4 separate regions of the Homo sapiens genome follow, and regions 1, 3 and 4 are each linked to region 2. Evidence: promoter capture Hi-C in 16 types of primary human blood cells and fetal thymus (Javierre and others, 2016). All regions are on one chromosome and are shown on one strand. Each heading gives the region's core, a stretch centred on a gene start or on the middle of the fragment in contact. The rest is flanking DNA. Distances are from core to core; before and after follow the strand shown. Region 1 overlaps CARMAL (coronary artery disease region linked MFGE8 regulatory lncRNA). Region 2 holds the start of RLBP1 (retinaldehyde binding protein 1). Region 3 holds the start of CARMAL (coronary artery disease region linked MFGE8 regulatory lncRNA). Region 4 has its middle 21 kb from the start of CARMAL.

Region 1 (3,242 bases), core at 86-2,585, 160 kb after region 2:
TCTTCCTGGATCCCCTGGCATATGGGCATTGGTGAGACTGCAGAGCTGTGACCAGGTACAGCAGAGAAGAGAGCCCCAAACATGGAAGAGGGCATGATGGGAGATGCTGGAGAGGAGAGAAAATTTCCATTTGGCTTTTTGAGCTTCTTGTCAGGTCCTCAGAGCACAGCAACTTGGCAGCTCTCTGCGTGCCCCATTCCTAGTCTTCCTTCATGAATTTTTCATTTCAGGCAAAGAGCCCTTATCTTTCGCTGGAGCTGCTTTCCCATCAGCTGGTGACTAGGCAGATGAAGGTTGCATTAAGGCAGGAATTATCCATCCCTTGAGAGAGAAATGGCACTCTGTGCCCTTGAAAGGATGGCTTCTGCGCCACCACCCATTACTGCAGGCTTCTGTCCAACGTTGGATTGCTGTTTTTATTGAGATATTGTTGAGGGCTGAAAGAGAAAGGCTTCAAGGGCAGATACTATGGTCTTGTCTGAAGAGTGAGGTCTTTCCTGCTGCCAATCATTGGACATGAGGGGGCTCCACAGCAGGAAAGAGGAATTAAGAAGGGACTTGGCCTGTCACAACCCAGATTTCCAGGAGTCTCGATGTCCAGGGGCACTCCTGAGGGATGGAGGGAGTTAAGGATGTCATCTCTCCTTGTCCCCATCCCCTGGGCCCAGAGCAGGAGAAGCTCCTGCTGTGCACCTCCTCGGGCCATGTTCCTTTCTACAAAGGGAGTCCATACACCCACCCAAGACTAGGCTCCGTGTACCAGGACCCCAGAGTTTCTGTCCAAATTACAGCAAGCCCTCTTCTGTGCCTGCGGGGCATCTTCATTTTCTCTAGGTCTCTCTTCCCAAGAGTGGACCTCACTACCTGTGTTCACATGCTAGGTACTAGGAGTGGCCAAGGGGTAGCTGTTTTCAGGGTTGTAAGGGGTGTGGGTGTGGAGGAAGCTTGGATGTGTGAGCTGGAGTATCCACACGTATGTGAGGCTCCTCACGATCTGAAAGGATGAGCGTGGGTGGGTGGACCTGGGGCCAGAAGTGGAGAGCCAGGGGAATGGATCTCCAAGGAGGCTGAAAATCCTAAAAGTCAACCTGGTCTTTTAGGTGGTTATGAAGGTATCTACCTCAAGGCGGAAGGATGGAGCATACTTCATTTAAGGGTTTATCAGCTTGACTGAACAACTTGAAAATATGCAGACATAGAGTATGTGAGCTTCCATTCGTTCTCTTGCCTGGCGCCCCACAAATGTTGGTGGGCTTAATTTGTAAGTGGGGAGCTAGGGAGTCCTAGTCCTGGGGTCCCTGATGGACTGGGTAGAGGGCGAAGAGCTGCAGGAAAGAAGTCAGACCTGGCAAACTAAAGTTTTGACTCACGGTGTCCCCTGAATCTATCTTCGTTTTCTTAGTCCTCAGCTTTTAGGACAGTGTGATTGGAAAGTTCTGGCAGGTTTGTTTCTTTCTTTTTTTTTTTTCATTCCTTCTTATTAATAGCGGGTTTCACTGGGAAGCCGCATGGTGGCAATAGATGGCCCCAGTTGGAGAGGGAGCAGCGCCACCCTGAGGCCATGGAGGGAATGGCAGCAGGAATGGGGGTGAGCCCAACGGGGCCTGCCTCTCAGGAGCCCATGCACCAGGCACGCCCCCACCGTGATTCCACGACCATGGCTAAACAAGAAGGGGCTGTATTCTTACCCTCTTACCAAAAATAGCATTTTCACCATTGAAGCTTCCCAAAGAACTCTCAGCTGTTTGCTAACCATGAAAATCAATCCTTGGAGTTCCAGAGGCGGCCAGTCCCCAACTTCCCAGTGGTCACTGTGTAACCCCTGCCCTACCTCATCTTCAGAAACCCCATCATCACTGCGCCAAACCCCAAAGGGAAGTGGAGATGAAGGAAGGGAATTAGCTATGAGCAGCTTAGAAGAGCTAACCCGGGGGTGGCTTCTCAAGCAGAACTCACATGCTTACAAAGGGGCTTCAATAGATCCTTTACCCTTTTCACTTAACACTTTTAAAAATGGTATCACGCTGGCCTAGCGCAGTGGCTCATGCTTGTAATCCCAGCACTTTGGGAGGCTGACGCAGGCGGATCACCTGAGGTCAGGAGTTCAAGACCAGCCTGCTAACACGGTGAAACCCCATTTCTACTAAAAATACAAAAAATTAGCCGGGCGTGGTGGCGTGTGCCTGTAATCCCAGCTACTCAGGAGGCTGAGGCAGGAGAATCGCTTGAACCCGGGAGGCGGAGATTGCAGTGAGCCGAGATGGCGCCATTGCACTCCAGCTTGGGCAACAAGCGCAAAACTCCATCTCAAAAAAAAAAAAAAAAAAAAAAGGTATCACTTATAAACTGGATTAACAGTGTGAAAAAAATTTAATGCCTACTGACTATATTTCCTGACTGCCTGCACACAAACTCTGACAGGTAGAGATTGCTATTGTCCCATTTTACAGACAAGAAAACTGAGGCCCAGTGAGGTGAATGACTCACTCAAGGTCATGTTGTAATAAGTAGTGCTGCTGGGTCTGATTTTTTTCATTGCACTGTTCTATCTTTTGCAAGCACCCTGAAGGAATTTTATTTTTTTATTTTATTTTTTTGAGATGGAGTCTTGCTCTGTCGCCCAGGCTGGAGTGCAGTGGTGCGAACTCGGCTCACTGCAAATTCCACCTCCCGGGTTCACGTCATTCTCCTGCCTCAGCCTCCTGAGTAGCTGGGACCACAGGCACCTGCCACCATGCCTGGCTAATTTTTTTGTATTTTTAGTAGAGACGGGGTTTCACCGTGTTAGCCAGGATGGTCTCGATCTGTGCCCGGTGCCTGAAGGAATTAAAGATTCAAATTCCTGCCACAATCCTGCACTGGGGCATGGTGTTCTTTCTTACTGTGTCATTCAAGTTGCAAAATCCATACATATTCTTGTAACTAAGCAAATATCTCCAATGCCATCTCCTGAGGTGAGCAATATTAACAGTTTTGTGAGTTTTTTTCCTATTATTTTCCCTAGGAAGATACGAATAGTTACAAATTAAAAATTCGTAGAGGGATTCCCACCTCCATTTACAAAATTTTAATTAAAAGCAAAAATCAGGCTAGGCGTGGCAGCTCACATCTGTAATCCCAGCACTTTGGGAGTCTGTGGTCAGAGGATTGCTTGAGGCCAGGAGTTTGAGACCAGCCTGTGCAACATAGGCAGACTCTGTCTCTACAAAATATTTTTAAAAATTAGCTGGGCATGGTGACTC
Region 2 (3,388 bases), core at 499-2,998:
GCGTGCCTGTAATCCCAGCTACTTGGGAGGCTGAGGCATGAGAATCACTTGCACCTGGGAGGCGGAGGTTGCAATAAGCTGAGATCGCACCACTGCACTCCCGCCTGGGTGACAGAGCGAGACTCTGTCCCCTGCCAGACTCCCACAAAAATTTAGTTCTTGGGTCGTATTACCCTATTTATAAAAATTTTTTTTATAGTGAGACCCAATCTCTAGCATTACCCCATTTCGAATGCTGAAAAGCTACATGGGGCTAGCGGCTACTATATAAGACAGCATAGGACTAGACCACCAGGAAGAAGAATGACATAAATGAAGGATCCCCAGCTCCACAGAGGACTTGGGACAGAAACAGCCCAAGACCCAGACAGCAGCCAGAGTAGGAGCCCAGGGAAAGGGCTTTTGGAAACAAAGAGCTCAAGGTGACTCAAATGCACCCCAAGATCTAAGCACCAGGCATTGCAGCCTGCTCTGGAGGAAGGGGTCGGCAGGAGATGGGGTGGTGGGAAGAAATCCCAAACCTGCCAAAGTAGGAATGGGTGGAAAAGCAAGAACTATGTCCAGGGAAAATAAAAAAGCACTTCTGGGGTTGGATTCTGGAGAGCGACCTGTGCAGGGGAGCTTGACCTTCTCCTGGGCACCTCTAGGAGGCAAAACCAGGACCAAGGGTGGTCATTATAGGAAGCTGCTTGGGGCTCAAACCAACAATGAGGTTTTAAACAAGGAGAGCTCCCCAGTAATGGAAACAGGGAGCTTCCCGCCCTTGGAATCCTAGACAGAAAATGTTCTACAGGAATTACCTCCTCCTCATCCAGTGGAATAGCAAAACAGAGGCTGGGAAGTTACCTGTTGAGAGGCTGCAGAGGGGTTTCTTCCTGTACAAAGGATTGAATAATAAGTTCCCTCCAGTTAGGCACCTATTGATACTGTATTTGGAGTAACTGACCTTTCCAGAGGACTTATTGTCAGGCAGCTAAACCCCTGAACTAAGCACTTTACTGCCATTTCATCCGCACTAAAGTCATGAGCCTGGTCCTCTAGTTTTCTACACTTCTTAGAGGAGGAAACTGAGCCGATGAGTTTTGAAGTCATGTTTCCCGGCCAGAAGATGCTCGAGCGAGGCTTTACAGGCGGGCAGTCTGGTTCCAGGGCATGCCACTGCACCACACTGCCCAGAAGGAGGCTCAGCCTGTCTTGTCCTCTCCCTGCTTGGCCTTAACCAGCCACATTTCTCAACTGACCCCACTCACTGCAGAGGTGAAAACTACCATGCCAGGTCCTGCTGGCTGGGGGAGGGGTGGGCAATAGGCCTGGATTTGCCAGAGCTGCCACTGTAGATGTAGTCATATTTACGATTTCCCTTCACCTCTTATTACCCTGGTGGTGGTGGTGGGGGGGGGGGGGTGCTCTCTCAGCAACCCCACCCCGGGATCTTGAGGAGAAAGAGGGCAGAGAAAAGAGGGAATGGGACTGGCCCAGATCCCAGCCCCACAGCCGGGCTTCCACATGGCCGAGCAGGAACTCCAGAGCAGGAGCACACAAAGGAGGGCTTTGATGCGCCTCCAGCCAGGCCCAGGCCTCTCCCCTCTCCCCTTTCTCTCTGGGTCTTCCTTTGCCCCACTGAGGGCCTCCTGTGAGCCCGATTTAACGGAAACTGTGGGCGGTGAGAAGTTCCTTATGACACACTAATCCCAACCTGCTGACCGGACCACGCCTCCAGCGGAGGGAACCTCTAGAGCTCCAGGACATTCAGGTACCAGGTAGCCCCAAGGAGGAGCTGCCGACCTGGCAGGTAAGTCAATACCTGGGGCTTGCCTGGGCCAGGGAGCCCAGGACTGGGGTGAGGACTCAGGGGAGCAGGGAGACCACGTCCCAAGATGCCTGTAAAACTGAAACCACCTGGCCATTCTCCAGGTTGAGCCAGACCAATTTGATGGCAGATTTAGCAAATAAAAATACAGGACACCCAGTTAAATGTGAATTTCAGATGAACAGCAAATACTTTTTTAGTATTAAAAAAGTTCACATTTAGGCTCACGCCTGTAATCCCAGCACTTTGGGAGGCCGAGGCAGGCAGATCACCTGAGGTCAGGAGTTCGAGACCAGCCTGGCCAACATGGTGAAACCCCATCTCCACTAAAAATACCAAAAATTAGCCAGGCGTGCTGGTGGGCACCTGTAGTTCCAGCTACTCAGGAGGCTAAGGCAGGAGAATTGCTTGAACCTGGGAGGCAGAGGTTGCAGTGAGCTGAGATCGCACCATTGCACTCTAGCCTGGGCGACAAGAACAAAACTCCATCTCAAAAAAAAAAAAAAAAAAAAAGTTCACATTTAACTGGGCATTCTGTATTTAATTGGTAATCTGAGATGGCAGGGAACAGCATCAGCATGGTGTGAGGGATAGGCATTTTTTCATTGTGTACAGCTTGTAAATCAGTATTTTTAAAACTCAAAGTTAATGGCTTGGGCATATTTAGAAAAGAGTTGCCGCACGGACTTGAACCCTGTATTCCTAAAATCTAGGATCTTGTTCTGATGGTCTGCACAACTGGCTGGGGGTGTCCAGCCACTGTCCCTCTTGCCTGGGCTCCCCAGGGCAGTTCTGTCAGCCTCTCCATTTCCATTCCTGTTCCAGCAAAACCCAACTGATAGCACAGCAGCATTTCAGCCTGTCTACCTCTGTGCCCACATACCTGGATGTCTACCAGCCAGAAAGGTGGCTTAGATTTGGTTCCTGTGGGTGGATTATGGCCCCCAGAACTTCCCTGTGCTTGCTGGGGGTGTGGAGTGGAAAGAGCAGGAAATGGGGGACCCTCCGATACTCTATGGGGGTCCTCCAAGTCTCTTTGTGCAAGTTAGGGTAATAATCAATATGGAGCTAAGAAAGAGAAGGGGAACTATGCTTTAGAACAGGACACTGTGCCAGGAGCATTGCAGAAATTATATGGTTTTCACGACAGTTCTTTTTGGTAGGTACTGTTATTATCCTCAGTTTGCAGATGAGGAAACTGAGACCCAGAAAGGTTAAATAACTTGCTAGGGTCACACAAGTCATAACTGACAAAGCCTGATTCAAACCCAGGTCTCCCTAACCTTTAAGGTTTCTATGACGCCAGCTCTCCTAGGGAGTTTGTCTTCAGATGTCTTGGCTCTAGGTGTCAAAAAAAGACTTGGTGTCAGGCAGGCATAGGTTCAAGTCCCAACTCTGTCACTTACCAACTGTGACTAGGTGATTGAACTGACCATGGAACCTGGTCACATGCAGGAGCAGGATGGTGAAGGGTTCTTGAAGGCACTTAGGCAGGACATTTAGGCAGGAGAGAAAACCTGGAAACAGAAGAGCTGTCTCCAAAAATACCCACTGGGGAAGCAGGTTGTCATGTGGGCC
Region 3 (3,193 bases), core at 257-2,756, 180 kb after region 2:
ACCACAAAACTCACATTTGCTCATGATTCTGCAACGTGGGCAGAGCTCGGCAGCGGCAGTTCATCTCTGTTCCACATGGCATCAGCTGAGGCTGCTCCACCGAGGCTGCAGGATCCAGTTCCAGAATGGCACACTCACGTCACTGGAAGTTGATGCTGGCTGGCAGCCAGGGCCTCCTCTTGGCCTCCTTACACAGTTAAGTTAAACTTCTGCAGCACAATAGTTGGGTTCCAAGTGGGAGCATCCCAGGAGGAAGCATCCCAGGCCAGGGGTAGGCACTTTTCAAGCCTCTGCTGGCATCTTCTTGCTAGAGCCCTATTGGCCAAAGCTTGTCAGCTGACCAAGCCCAGAGTCAGTGTGGGAGGAGACTACACACAGTGGTGAATACTGGGAGCTGTGGTTTACCGAAGTGTCTGTCTGTCTGAACTTCTTTTTCCTAAGGCTCGCTTTGGTGCTCCTCACATTCTCCCATCAGCCTCCTCTGAAACCTGGTTCCATCCAGTATCCTCTCTCTCACCTCGTCCATTGCTCCTTCTTCAACGAATCCCTCCTTTCAGCCAACAGACCCACTCAAGCCACAGCTATCCCCGAACAGCTCCGTTCAGCCCTGCGTCTCCCTCAGGGTGCCGTCCTGTCTCCCTCCATTCCTTTGCTTCCAAAACCCTTCAAATAGCTGCTGAATGCTGGAAGCAGAAAAAGTTCCCTAAAGCCAATTTGCTACATTTATGAAATATTCTAGGCTGGGCACTGTGTCTCACGCCTGTAATCCCAACACTTTGGGAGGCCAAGGCGGGCGGATCACAAGGTCAAGAGATCAAGACCACCCTGACCAACATGGTGAAACCCCGCCTCTCCTAAAAATACAAAAATTATCTGGGTGTGGTGGCACGCACCTGTAGTCCCAGCTTCTTGGGAGGCTGAGGCAGGAGAATCGCTTGAATCCAGGAGGCAGAGGTTGTAGTGAGCCAAGATCGTGCCACTGCACTCCAGCCCGGCAACAGAGCCAGACTCTGCCTCAAAAAAAAAAAAAAAAAAAAAGTGAAATATTCTGATTTGTCCATTCTAAAGAATTTTTTCTTTAATGTTTTCAATGAATACGAATATATACTGTTAATGAATGCATTAGTAAATATATTCAAGAATATACTCTTATGAATATAAATAAAAATCTATTGATAAGAAGTCTAAACTACTCGATGACTCTTAGGTTCCAGCAAGCCCATAGTCTGTGAATAGATTCACAAGTGGAATATATTCATATTCACTGAGAAAAACTTTCTTCAAAATTTTTGACAAATTTGCCAAAATTGGCACACATCTCTTAATTAAAAAATTTCATCCCTCCTTTCTTCCATCCATTCATCCATCCAACGGATATTTATTTGAATGCCATGACATGCTCAGCACTGGGGCATAGTGTGGTTGAACACAGACCCAGCCCCGGCCCTCATAGAGTTTACAGTCTAGTAGGGGAGACAGTTACTCATTAAGTGATCATTTCAAACAAACCCTGAAACTGGCCGGGTGCCATGACTCATGCCTGTAATCCCAGCACTTTTGGAGGCCAAGATGAGAGGATCACTTGAGGTCAGGAGTTCGAGACCAGCCTGGCCAACACGGTGAAACCCCGTCTCTACTAAAAATACAAAAATCAGCTGGGTGTGGTGGCGGGTGCCTGTAATCCCAGCTACTCCGGAGGCTGAGGCAGGAAAACTGCTTGAACCCAGGAGGTGGAAGTTGCAGCGAGCTGAGATCGCGCCACTGCACTCCAGCCTGGGTGACAGAGTGAGACTCTGTCTCAATTAAAAAAAAAAAAAGAACACTGAAATTGCAATCTTGACCAGTGCTACCATACCTTTTCCAGCTCATGACACGCCCTTTGGCACGCACTGCTTTGGAATTTTGATCATACTGCTCCCTTTGCTGGCAATGCTCTTTCCCGCTTTCCCTGCTTGGCATATGCAGCTTAATTTTAAGACCCCAGTCAACAGCGCTCACTGTGGCTCTGGCTCCTATCCCCAGGAAAGATGAACTGCTCCATTATTTATGTTCTAGCAGCACTTGGCATAAACTTCTAGCAGTGAACATATCAAACCATAATATATTATATCTGTGTCTCTTCTATTAGATCGTAAGTGCAATAGGGTCAAGAATTCTGTCTTCAGAGGCTTGGGTGGAGTGAGTGTGCATGTTTAAAAAGAGAGAAGTTTACAAAAATGTTTAAAAAGAAAGAAGTCGGGGGGTGGGGGGCGGGTGGGCAGGCGCAGTGGCTCACGCCTGTAATCCCAGCACTTTGGGAGGCAGAGGGGGCCAGATAGCTTGAGCTGAGTTTAAGACCAGCCTGGGCAACATGGTGAAATCCCATCTCTACAAAAACATACAAAAAAAAAAAAAAAAAATTAGCTGGCTGTGATGGCAAGCACCTGTAGTCCCAGCTACTCAGGAAGCAAAGGTGGGAGGATTGCTTGAGCCTGGGAGGTCGAGGCTGCAGTGAGCTGTGATCGCCCTTTGCACTCCAGCCTGGGAGACAGAGTGAGACCCTGCCTCAGAAAAAAAGGTATCCTTACCTGACATGGAAAAATTCCTCTGGGCACCCATTAGGGGACAGACACCTCCATTTACACTCATCCTTTTAAAGCCTCTTATAATTTGACCCACAATATAGACATCAAAAATAAGCTTGAGGGAGGCCCAGCAGCCATGGTGGCAGACAGGGCTGGCAGGTAAGGCTCTGGTGGCCACTGACTTGAGGGAGAGCAGCCTGCTGACCTCAGCCAGGGCTGCAGCAGTGGGGCCAGTGCCAGACAAGGTGCTCCAAGGGGCTAGGACCAAGTGCAGTCATCTTTGCCTCTCTGGCATCTAGCAGCATTGACTAGATGCTCACACACTCGAGAAATACGTGTTAAGTGAACGGTCCCTGTGACAATCAAGCAGACTTTTTTCTTTCCGATGACACACCTCCTCTGGCCGCCACTGTCACCCTGCAGAGCAGAATCACTCTTCTGCGGGGAAGCTGGAAGGGAAACAGGCCAGGACAGCCTGGGTGAAGCAGGACTGTGTTTTGATGAGCTGAGCAAGCCTGGGTGCGGGACCCTGAGGTTACGTAGCAGACCAGGGACCCCAAGGAAGACTGCATGGATTTTGTGGGCAAAATCAGTCCATTTCAGAAATAGTTGGTGGTTTAATTGAGCCT
Region 4 (3,235 bases), core at 197-2,696, 200 kb after region 2:
TAGAACAACATTTGCCCATTTCCAGTCAGGTGGGGCCTCACCCATTCTCCAAAATTCTTCCAAGATTATAAACACTAGTGGAGCCTTGGAATTTACCACAGCAGCCCTTGTTGACTTTAGCTTTTTTATTTTTTTCTTTTTAAACCAGCCTCACCTCTTTCTATGCTTTATTTCCCCCCTATATTCTCTTTCTATGGGACTCTATCGTTTAAAAAATATTTGTCTTGGCCCAGTATGGTGGCTCATACCTGTAGTCCCAGCACATTGGGAGGCTAAGGCAGGAGGATCACTTGAGCCCAGGAGTTCGAGACCAGCCTGAGCAACATGGCAAAATCTAGTCTTTATGAAAAATACAAAAATTAGCCAGGTGTGGTGGCAGCTACTCAGGAAGCTGAGGTGGCAGCTACTAGTCCCATCCACTCAGGAAGATGAGGTGGAAGGATTCCTTGAGCCCAAGAAGTAAAGGCTGTGGTAAGCCTTGGTTGTGCCACTGCACTCCAGCCTGGGTGACAGAGCAAGACCCTGTCTCAATAAAATAAAAAATGAAAAATAATTTGTCTTTACTCTGACAGACCAGGTTTTTGGTTTGCTTGTTTGTTTGTTTTTTGAGATGGAGTTTCATTCTCATTGCCCAGGCTGGAGTGCAATGGCACAATCTTGGCTCATCGCAACCTCCAACTCCCGGGTTCAAGTGATTATCCTGCCTCAGCCTCCTGAGTAGCTGGGATTACAGGCATGCACCACCACACCCAGCTAATTTTGTATTTTTAGTAGAGATGGGGTTTCTCCATGTTGGTTAGTCTGGCCTCGAACTCCCGACCTCAGGAGATCCGCCCACCTCAGCCTCCCAAAGTGCTGGGATTACAGGAGTGAGCCACTGCGCCTGGCCTCAGACCAGGTTTTGACTCTTTCTTCTCACATACCTCTTCCCCCACTTACATCCAGTCAAATGCAGAATCCCATCATAGTTGTGCCATCTTAGGCAAATCACCTAAATTCTCTGTAGCTCAGTGTTCTCTTCTGTAAAATGGAGGAGTTGAACTGGTTGGTCACTGAGGTCCCTTGGAAGACTATCTTTGGGTTAGGGATCCCTTTGACAATTGGTTAAAAACAGTGGCCCCGGGGCCAGGTACAGTGGCTCACGCCTGTAATCCTAGCACTTTGGGAGGCCGAGGTGGGCAGATCACTTGAGGTCAGGAGTTCCATACCAGTCTGGTCAACATGGTGAAACCCCGTCTCTACTAAGAATACAAAAATTAGCCGGGCACGGTGGTGGGCGCCTGTAATCCCAGCTACCCAGGAAGCTAAGGCAGGAGAATCACTTGAACCCGGGAAGCGGAGGTTGCATTGAGCCAAGATCACGCCATTGCACTCCAGCCTGGGTAACAAGAGCGAGACTCCATATCAAAACAAACAAACAAACAAACAAAAACAAACAACCCCCCCCAAACCAAACAAAACAAAAACGGTGGCCCTTCATTTCAGAAAAGCAATCCCATGTCATGTACTGGCTGACTTTGTTTTGTCTGCTACAACCATCATCCCCTTCTTTCAGGGGACATTTCTCCCCCACGCCTACTGTTTGGCTCTGGATGGGAGACCAATGAAAGTACCCCATCTCACTCTGCCCAGAAGAGTGGGTACTTCAAGTCCTTTTCTGTTGGTTTGTTTGGTTTGTTCTTCTTTTAAACGGAACTGGGAGGGAAGGTTTCTTTTCCTTTTTGGTAGAGGACCAAGGTTATGAATCTTGAACTGCCTGGGGCCATATTTCCTGGTGTGCATAGAAAGCCCTTCTGTGTGGAAGAGAAGAAAGGCTGCAGAGAGGGGGAAGCCCAGAGTTTGGGGAAAGTGGGTGAAGTAGGAAGGGGAAGGGTGGGGGTTATGGGAAAGGGGAGAGAAATTCTTGCTGGCATTCAGTCCCGGATTCCACTGTCACTGAAGCTCAGCACATTCTTCCTATCCTTTGGCTCAGTGAATCAATAAATTCCTTTTTGTTATTGTTGTTTAAGTGAATTTTAGTTGATGAACTGACATTAGCAGCAGAATGAGTCCTGATTAGCAGAGGCACTACCTTCCCCTGCTTTGCATTGTTGACCCTGATATTTTCATACTGCCTCGCGTTTCTTGTCCTCATTCTCATTGTCCTCAGATTCTAACCTCTTTTAAGGCATCTTTAAAATATCTTACACAACTCTTACACCAGTGCTCAATTGGGTCTGAGGGAATTAAACAGAACTTTATTTTCTCACATGTCCCCATGTTATTACCCTCTCTCCCACTGGACTATACATTTTTGGATGACAAAGACACTATTTTCTAATGTTTATAAGTTCCTTTAAAATAGGCCAGGCATGGAGGCTTACACCTGTAATCCCAGCACTTTGAGAGACCGAGGTGGGCAAATCACTTCAGGTCAGGAGTTCAAGACCAGTCTGGCCAACATGGCGAAACCCCATCTCTACTAAAAATACAAAAATTAGCTAGTGTGGTGGTGAGTGCCTGTAATCCCAACTACTTGGGAGGCTGAGGTACAAGAATCGTTTGAGCCCAGGAGGCTGAGGTTGCAGTGAGCTGAGATCATGTCACTGCACTCCAGCCTGGGTGACAGAGGGAAACTCTTGTCTCAATAAATAAATAATAAATGTTCCTGAAAACTGCTGTACACATAGTAGGAACCCAAAAATGCTGGAGATTGTGATGATGGTGGTGACCGTGTCATGAAAGGAGCCCATCTCATTGAGTGCCAGTGTCACTGAGAGGCTGTGAATCAAACGATTGACAAGGTCGCAGGGCCACAGTGGATATCCTTCTGCTAGGAGTCCTGAGGTCCAGCCTAGAAGCTAAGAGTACGTGTGACCCCCCTCACAGGCCCCCTGGGAATTTCAGTTGGGCCTGGCTGACTGGCTGGGCAGCAGCTCAGGAATTTCTCCTGATGAATGGAGCACTGGGCAGTGAGACAAGATACTGACAGGAGTGGCTAAAGCCATGGTCTATTTTTAACATTAGGGCCAGAGTGCCCTGGCACGGCTAGCGGATCTCTGACCTAAGGCCCTGAGAAGCTCCTGAAATTATAGTGAGGAAGCTCTGTGCATACGCAGCACACACATGCACACATCACGGATGTTGTCAGCAGATAATACAAATAATATGCCTTATCTATTTATGTAAGTGCAATTTTTCAGAAACATTTTCTCCAGCAATAGAAATTAAAAGCACATATTAATCATGAGTATTT

What was found. Contacts are between HindIII fragments. The CHiCAGO score rates a contact against its expected background, and 5 or more counts as called.
Region 1: a fragment that was not itself captured here is called in contact with the fragment with the promoter of RLBP1 in region 2 in 2 of 17 cell types (monocytes and erythroblasts); the score reaches 5.4 in monocytes.
Region 3: a fragment that was not itself captured here is called in contact with the fragment with the promoter of RLBP1 in region 2 in 2 of 17 cell types (neutrophils and M1 macrophages); the score reaches 8.4 in neutrophils.
Region 4: a fragment that was not itself captured here is called in contact with the fragment with the promoter of RLBP1 in region 2 in 1 of 17 cell types (neutrophils); the score reaches 5.6 in neutrophils.

Annotation. Positions count from the first base shown.
Region 1 is chr15:89,055,998-89,059,239 of GRCh38, reverse strand. The region is part of intron 1 of CARMAL (coronary artery disease region linked MFGE8 regulatory lncRNA); the gene reads right to left. It also overlaps a transcript of ABHD2 not described here. Among named protein-coding and RNA genes, the nearest start is that of CARMAL, 17 kb to the right of the region's middle. The HindIII fragment of the contact is 778 bases long and covers 947-1,724 here.
Region 2 is chr15:89,219,939-89,223,326 of GRCh38, reverse strand. RLBP1 (retinaldehyde binding protein 1) reads left to right here and starts at 1,748. Exons shown (of 9, transcript NM_000326.5): 1 at 1,748-1,792. The HindIII fragment of the contact is 10,964 bases long and covers 1-3,388 here.
Region 3 is chr15:89,038,122-89,041,314 of GRCh38, reverse strand. It overlaps CARMAL (coronary artery disease region linked MFGE8 regulatory lncRNA), which reads right to left and starts at 317. Exons shown (of 4, transcript NR_183882.1): 1 at 15-317. It also overlaps a transcript of ABHD2 not described here. The HindIII fragment of the contact is 2,351 bases long and covers 331-2,681 here.
Region 4 is chr15:89,018,144-89,021,378 of GRCh38, reverse strand. No RefSeq gene overlaps it. Among named protein-coding and RNA genes, the nearest start is that of CARMAL, 21 kb to the left of the region's middle. The HindIII fragment of the contact is 4,802 bases long and covers 1-3,235 here.